Regions from separate parts of the Homo sapiens genome. Here all the other regions are linked to region 2. Evidence: promoter capture Hi-C in 16 types of primary human blood cells and fetal thymus (Javierre and others, 2016). All regions are on one chromosome and are shown on one strand. The core of a region is centred on a gene start or on the middle of the fragment in contact, and the rest is flanking DNA. Distances in the headings are between cores, read along the strand shown.

Region 1 (2,700 bases), core at 75-2,574, 170 kb after region 2:
AGTAGCCAAACCACCCCCTTGGCTTAGCCCCTGGCAACCACTGGTCTGTTCTCTGTCCCTGTAATATTGTCTTTTTGAGAATGTATAAATGGAATCATAGCATATGTAGCTTTTTAAATCTGGCTTCTTTCCCTTAGCACAGTGCATTTGAAATTCATCCATGTTGTAGTGGGTCAGAAGTTTGTTCCTTTTTATCATTGGGTAGCAATTAGATTAAATAGATGTATCACAATGTATTCATCAGATGAAAGAAACTTGAATTGCTTCTAGTTTTTGGTGATTATGAATAAAGCTTCTATAAATGTTCAGGTACAGACAAATGTGAAAATATGTTTTCATGTCTCTTGAGTAAATATGTAGGAAAAGGATTGTTGGCCGTATTATAAATATATTGCATGTTACATTTTATAAGAGACTGGCAAAATGTTTTCCAAAGTGGCTGCACCATTTTGCATTCCCACTAGTAATGTATGAGAGTTCCAGTTGCTCCACAACCTCATCAGCATTTAGCATTGTCAGTTTTCTTTCTCTTAATTTTAGCCATTCTGAGAGGTAGGCAGTGGTATAGTAATCCCACTTCTAGATAGCTATCACAAATATGCAGTAGCAAAAATATAAAAAGGTGCATGTGCAAGGCTAGCCACTGCAGCTCTATTTGTAATAGCAAGAAAATGGAAACTCAAATTTTAATCGATGGAAAACTAATTGAATAAATGATGGTACATCCCCCAAATGAAGTATTATGCAGCTACTACAAGGGACAAGAAATTACTCCACTACTATGTGTGATCTCCAGGATATATTTTTAAGTAAAAAGAGAAAAGTATGTATAGTATGCAATCATTTATCTACAAATAAGAGAAAAACTATAAAAATTTAATAAAATATTCCCATAGCAAAAGGGAAAGAATAGAAAGGAAGGTACAGGGATGGAAGCTAGGCTTCTAAAAATATAGCTTTAGAAGCTAGCTTCTAAAAAAAAAGTAGATTTAACTTTGGAACAATGTAAACATTTTATGTAATTACATGCAAAATTAAGAAAAAATCAAATTCCTAGAAAGTAAAAATAATGTTAAATTAAAATGACCCTGTGTGTCCAGTTGATGACGTAACCACACAAAGAAGACTTTAGTGACCTTAAATCACTATCATTCGATTCTATACTCCTAGAAGACTATATCTGGCAAAAAGAGCTGTGTATTACAGGATGAAAATAATAATTATGTTGATGTCCTTAAAAATTAAGATATTTGGCATAGTTGATAGGAGATATAAATCTAAGATTGATAAGATTGAGCAAAAAGTCTATAGTCCTCCACTTCAATTGGAAGTATCAGTATGGATGCATTATACCTTTTCTTTCTTTCTTTCTTTCATTTTGAGTCAGGGTCTCACTCTGTCACCCATGCAGGAGTGCAGTGGCATGATCAGGGCTCACTGCAGCCTTGACCTCCTGGGCTCAAGCAATCCTCATGCCTCAGCCCCTCTAGTAGCTGGAACTACAGGTGTGCACCACCATGCCCAGTTAATTTTTTAAAAACATATTATTAGAGACAAGGTCTCACTTTGTTGCCCAGGCTGGTCTCAAACTCCTGAGCTCAAGCGATGCTCCTGCCTCGGCCTCCCAAAGAATTGGGATTATAGGCATGAACCACTGAGCTTTGTCCCTTTTATCTTTAGAAAACAATATACATCTCCTAGCTATGCCTACTAAAAATAATTGAAATTCAAGTAAACTGTGAAAAGAAAAACACTTTTTAAAAAAGAGACGAGGTCTTGCTAAGTTGCCCAGGCTGGAGTGCAGAGGCTATTCACAGGTGCAATCATGGCTCTCTATAGCCTTGAACTGTTGGGCTCAAGTGACCCTCTTGCCTCAGCCTCTTGAGTAGCTAGGACTACAGATGTGTGCCACCGTGCCCAGCTTGAAAAACGCATTTAAAAGACAACCAGAGAAATATAAATGTTATAGTATATTTACTGAAACTCAGAAATGATTGTCAATATGTTAAACTGTGATAATGGTATTGTATTTTTTAAAAAGAACTTGTACCTTTTAGAGATATATTCTGAAATATTTATAGAAGAAATAATATATCTAAGATTTGCCTCAAAATTATCTGAGGGCAGGGAAAGGAAAGGTATGTGAACACGTAGATGATTCAGGATGAGTATTTAGTGGCAATTGTAAAAGCTGGGTGGTGGGCACATTAGGATCATTATACTACTCTTTCTACATTTGAGTGGTTTTAACATTTTCCATAATAAAAAAGTTTTTTTTTTAAAAAGGAGATGTGAAGATAGTTGTCTGAGGATGCTATGCTCAGAGCTGCTGCAGTCACTTTGTGAGAATGAAAGAGCAAGCTTGAGGCCTAAAGCATCCAATTTGATAGGTATTCCATTTCTATGAATTCAAATTTCTTAACTTAATTATAAAGCTAGTTAATGCGAAAATGAGGCAATTATCATGGACACAAATATTGAAACTAGGGTTTATCCATGTATATTCATGAGACTTTTTTGGTTGCAACTAATAGAAACCTTAGCATAGTTTAGGCAAAATTTAGAGATTTATTATGGAAATTCAGAATTCTAGGACAGAAGTGCCACCAAGACTCATGAAGAACATAGTTCACAATATCAGGTCCCTCCATATCCTTTCTCCAGCTCTCATCGCCGCTCTTCAGCATTACCATGACTGTC
Region 2 (2,700 bases), core at 135-2,634:
CAGTGGCGCGATCTCGGCTCACTGCAACCTCCGCCTCCCGGGTTCAAGCGATCCTCCTGCAGCCTCTCAAGCAGCTGGGATGACAAGCGTGCGCCACCACGCCCGGGTAATTTTTGTATTTTTAGTAGAGACGGCGTTTCACCTTGTTGGCCAGGCTGATCTTGAATTCCTGACCTCAAGTGATCCTCCCACCTTGGTCTCCCAAAGTGCTGGGATTACAGGCATGAGCCACAGCGCCCGGCCAGGATTCACTTTTATAATTATCAGGAAAACTGTAGGAAGTGTTAATAGGTAAAAGGACCTCATTTCATAGATAAGGAAACTGAGACACAGAGAGAGAGGGAGTTTCTAAAAGTGTTATACAGGTGGCCTATAAACTCTGTAGTGAAGAAAGGAAATGAAGACAGGATAGAATGATCGCGAGAAAATGGTAAGAACAAGGGACTGGAAGACGCAAGGAAGTTTAGAAATACGCTGGCATAGGGGTCTTTTGAGCAGGCACGCTGCTAAGATGATAGGATTATAGTCAAGGATGGGGAGCGATTGCACTGGGGATTTCTGGAGCGGGTGCAGCCTCTGATGGTAACATGGTCCAGGGTATACCTTCAAAACGGGAGGCTACTGGAGTGAAAGGCGTCAATGGTGATAACACTTTAAAAAAAACTTCAGTGTTTCCCTAGCATCCAGCCCAGTATCTGCTAAATTCTTTAAAATATCTGTTGAATGCATGTCGTGAACGCCGTGCTCATGGGCAAGCCCCAGATGAAGCCTGTGCAAGTGCTTCTTGCTTTAACTCCCTTGTAGCAATCAGAGGAACATCCTCTGCCTAGGATTCCCAAGCTCCCTGAACCTCACGCGACAGCTGGAGCCCAGGCTGCGTCCGCTTTGAGGTTCATCCGAGCCTGGGCAGTTCGGTCCCTGGAGGGAATTCGCTTTAGATACGACTGTCAGAGAGAAGTGTGCTGATAAGAACACTCGCTCATAGCGCGCAAGCATCAGAAGTGGGGGAGGCCGGGGAGGCGCTGCGCCGGTGCCTCAGGCCGTCCTCGGACACAGGCCCTGAGAAGCGTGTCCGTGTTTCAGAGGGTGGCGGCGGCAGCTTTGTCTCAGCGAAGGCCACAGCACTGCGGGCAGCTGCCGCATGAAACCTCGGCTCCCCCTGACTCTGCACCCGACACTTCACCTGCAACGCAATCCGAAGGCGAAGGCACCGCATCCCGTCGGCCCCGCGCGGCCGGAAGCCTCGCGCCCAAGACTCCCCGGCATCCTAGCGCGCTGGCTGCAAAAGAGGCGGGAAACGCCTCCGCGTCCCTTCCAACAGTACCGGAGAGGGAGAGGGGCGTGGCTGAGACTAGCCCCGACCACGCGCGCGCGGCCCCTCGGCAACCGGCACAACACAACAAAATGGCTGCCGCGCCGCTGGGCCCCTGAGGAAAGAGCCCGAACTTCTCCCGCTCTACCTCAGCCTGCGGGACTGCTCGGCTCGGCTTCTAGGCGGTGAGCGTCAGACCTGGCCGAGCCCGTTCCCCGGCATCCGGCCCGAGCAGTGGGGGCCGGCGGCAAAGGCGGGAAGGCCCGGACCGGGCGTGGTGTGGGCCGGCTTGGGATGGATTCGGGGCGGGGGCGCGTGTCTGGGAATTGGGATTGGACGGGAAAGAGGGGAGGGCCCGGAACGGGCGTGGGGCGGTGGATGAAGGAGGGAGGTTTGGATGGGAAGAGGTGGGGACGGCGGGGGCGATTGGGGATGAAGAACCAGAGTGTGGGGAGGTGTGGAAGTTAGGGTGCGGCGCCCAGAAGGTTGTGGGTCCTGCCACCTGAGCTGAGGGGAGAGCTGGGATGTGCCAGCTGTCTGTGGGGAGTGAGCGGGAGAAAGGACAGTTTGGGCGTCCTGACGGGTTGTCACGGTATCGGACGGAGTACAGTGCGTGGAGAAAGATGACAGGATATGGGGACGAAATGCTAAAAGAAGGGGAAGAACAAACACTTCCGTTATATTCGTTAAGGGACTAGAGAATTTTGAAGCCAGACAAACTTGGGTTGAAGCCTCAATTCTGCCACCTTGTGTAACTTAACCAGGTCTGTGACCCTGGATATGTGTCTGAGCCTTCCTGATCATGTTTCCTCATTTGTCCAAATAATTGCGAATCATTTTTGGGTGTTCACTATTTGTCAGATCCAGTTTTAAGCACTTTGCACGTATTAACCTCATTTAGAATTTAAAATAACTTGTATGAGGTTATCATCCCCATTTAAAAAGTGATAGCACTGAGGACCAGAGAGGTTAAGTAATTTGCCTAAGATCACACAGTAAGTGGAAAATCAGAATTTGAACTCAGGCTGTTTCGTTCCAGAATCCAAGCTTTTAACTGTTCAGGTACATTGCCATTTGTAAATCAGGTTAATAATTCTGATCCTATACAGCTAAATCTTTGAGGATTTAAATTTGGTATTGTCTAAGTGTTTAGTACAGTCCTTCAGTCAACAAATATTTATTGTTTATAGAACAACAGACAAAACCTCTGCTCTCTTGTAGCTTATAGTCTAGAAGGAGAAACAGGCAACAACCAAGTAGTTTCACAAATAATGGTTATAAAATGCTATGAAGGAGACTGCTTGGTGCAGAGATCATGGGTAATAGGGAGATAAAATCTTCTGCATCTTGAGCTTAGATTCTAGCATGGTTCTTCCTACATAAAAGTT
Region 3 (2,700 bases), core at 92-2,591, 130 kb after region 2:
TTACCTGGGGGGTTGCTGGTGGCTGGGCAGCTTTCCGGGCGGGAGGGGGGCGTCAGGACCAGGAACAGGAGTGCGGACGCAGCGGGAGAGGGGGCGGGGGCGGTCGACCGAGGCGCCGGCAGGTACACTGGCAGGCCGAGAGGTGCAGACGCGCCGGCAGCAGTAGCGGCAGTAGCAGTGGCAGCGGTGACTGCTCCTGTGCTCCCTCAGTATCTTCCTCGGGCTGGTCCAAGATGGCGGCGCTCCCTGCACAGGGTTTCCTGTCACCCTCGCAATGGGCCGGACCACAAAAGAAGGGGGAGAAGATGCGCGCGCAGCTGGCGGAGCCCGGAAGAGGGTGGCTGAGGCCAGCCCGCTAGCCACGCCCCTTCCTCAGCCCTCACCTCTGGACTTGTCGCGCCGCCGCTGAGGCCCGCCCCACGGGCGCTCGCGCCCGGAGGGAAGGTGGAAAGCGCGTATGCGCAAGCGCAGTCGCGTGTCCTCGCCTCTTGGGGGAGCTACTGCGCAGGTCTGCGTGGAACCTGGTGGGGTGCGCCTGCGTCTTGGAGAACTAGGGTTGTCGCTCGTGGAGACTTTTGAACAATTTTTAAAGCCAACATTTACCACTTATTGGACGCTTACCGTATACTGGCCACCATGCTAAGCATGCATTTACTGCATTCATTCAACGTGTATTTATGGGGGCATTTACTGTATATACCGCTGTATGCTTCGTATATACCGGTCCTGTCCAACAAACGTCGGAGGCACGCATCCCCATTGTATCCATGGAGAAACTGAGGCTCAGGTTGGTCAACTCTCTTGTCCAAGATCACGCAGCTAGGAAGTGACCCTGCATTTCATCTCTATTTTGACTTCACTTTGGGGTTGCCTTTGACAGGGTGAGAGAAATGTGATATTTTTCACAATTTGTCTACCACCTGCCATCTTCCAACTTGCTCTGCCATAATCACTGCCCCAGAAGGTTTCGTGCTTTTCGGGTGCAGGGACACGTTTTGACTTTCTTGGACCCTGAGCACTTTTGCCTTGTGGCTTGTACATTACACACACACATATATTTCACACACATGTAAGTTAAATATATGTATAAATATTTAACATATTTTACAACTGCATTGATATAAACATGACGTATCAATATTATATAACAAAATATTTTCTCTGACCTGAAAGTTCATTTTTTTCTTCTGACTTTAAAAGAATGTAAGCCGGCCGGGCGCGGTGGCTCACGCCTGTAATCCCAGCACTTTGGGAGGCCACGACGGGCGGATCACGAGGTCAGGAGATCGAGACCATCTTGGCTAACACGGTGAAACCCCGTCTCTACTAAAAATACAAAAAAATTAGCCGGGCGTGGTGGCGGGCGCCTGTAGTCCCAGCTACTCGGGAGGCTGAGGCAAGAGAACGGCGTGAACCCGGGAGGCGGAGCTTGCAGTGAGCCGAGATCGCGCCACTGCGCTCCAGCCTGGGCAACAGAGCGAGACTGTCTCAAAAAAAAAAAAAAAAGGAACGTAAGCAAGGAGGGCTGGTAGTCTGCGCCTGTAATCCTAGCTACTGGGGAGGCTGAGGAGAGAGGATCGCTTGAGCCCAGGAGTTCTGGGCTGTAGTGCACTGTGTCACTAGATAGAGTGTCTGCACTTAAGTTCAGGAGGGAGGGACCACCCAGGTTGCCTAAGGAGGGATGAACCGGCCCAGGTCGGAGATGGAGCAGGTCAAAACTCCCGTGCTGATCAGTAATGGGATCATACCTGTGAACAGCCACTGCACTCCAGCCTGGGCAACATGGGGAGACCCTGTCTCTAAAATAAATAAATATTCATTTTTGTTGGCCCCTAAAAGTATTGGAGGCCCTAAGCCCTGTGCATACTGTACTGTGCCTAATGGATAAGGTGGCCCTGCCTTAGTTCCCCACCCCCAAATTAAATCAATCTTTCTCTTAGCGTTCAGGACCTTTTATGAACTGGTTCTGCCATGAACAAGTGAGATTTCACTGTAAAAGTGTGTGCCAGTTTGTACATCTCATATTTTCAGAGACCTGGGTTCGAATTCCTGCTCTATAATCTAATGGTATGCAGTTGTGCATGTCACTTGATTTCTGAGATTGTCAGTCTTTTCTGCAATATGAAAATAGTAATATCTCTCTCAAATAGGTCTTTGTGAAAATTAAATGGGATAGTATATGCAAAATATCTGGTATATAATAAGAAATGGAAATGATTATTACATGATAATCTAATCTAAGGTGATATTGAAATCCTTTTGCAACCCTAGAGGTCTAGGCTTCTATTTCCACATTCTTTAATAAGTATAGTTTGTTGTCACACTTTAACATTTTTGAAACTAAGAAATTTGCCTGTGCCAAGTAAAGGAGAAAACTGTGAACCAATGATCATTAATTGCCCAGGTATGAACTTAGACCTGGCTAGTAAGTTTCCTTATAGCCATTATCACCTGAAGGGAGATCTTTATGTATAGCTGATGTTTATTCAACACTTACTATGTACCAGCAACTGTCCTAAGAATCATGCATATTTTCTCATTTAATCCTTACCACATCCGCATGAAGTCAGTACTATATTTACCCCATTTTATGAATGAAAAAACTGAGTGTCATACAGATCTAAAGTCGTTTAGGTGAAAATTGGGTGGGACTTAAATCTGGCAACATGTGACCTCAGGGCTGTACTAAGCCCTATTCCA

What was found. Contacts are between HindIII fragments. The CHiCAGO score rates a contact against its expected background, and 5 or more counts as called.
Region 1: a fragment that was not itself captured here is called in contact with the fragment with the promoter of CNTRL in region 2 in 1 of 17 cell types (total B cells); the score reaches 5.2 in total B cells.
Region 3: a contact is called between a fragment that was not itself captured here and the fragment with the promoter of CNTRL in region 2, in 9 of 17 cell types (total B cells, naive B cells, naive CD4 T cells and 6 more). The highest score is 8.8, in total B cells.

Annotation. Positions count from the first base shown.
Region 1 is chr9:121,243,995-121,246,694 of GRCh38, forward strand. It overlaps a transcript of GSN not described here. Among named protein-coding and RNA genes, the nearest start is that of GSN, 23 kb to the right of the region's middle. The HindIII fragment of the contact is 2,069 bases long and covers 291-2,359 here.
Region 2 is chr9:121,073,571-121,076,270 of GRCh38, forward strand. It overlaps CNTRL (centriolin), which reads left to right and starts at 1,385. Exons shown (of 44, transcript NM_007018.6): 1 at 1,385-1,497. It also overlaps a transcript of C5 not described here. RefSeq lists silencers at 649-845, 1,470-1,529, 1,650-1,789 and an enhancer at 960-1,349. The HindIII fragment of the contact is 4,047 bases long and covers 1-2,357 here.
Region 3 is chr9:121,201,635-121,204,334 of GRCh38, forward strand. RAB14 (RAB14, member RAS oncogene family) reads right to left here and starts at 235. Exons shown (of 8, transcript NM_016322.4): 1 at 5-235. It also overlaps a transcript of GSN not described here and the pseudogene RN7SL181P. RefSeq lists a silencer at 1-156 and enhancers at 1-348, 167-386, 657-816. The HindIII fragment of the contact is 7,258 bases long and covers 1-2,700 here.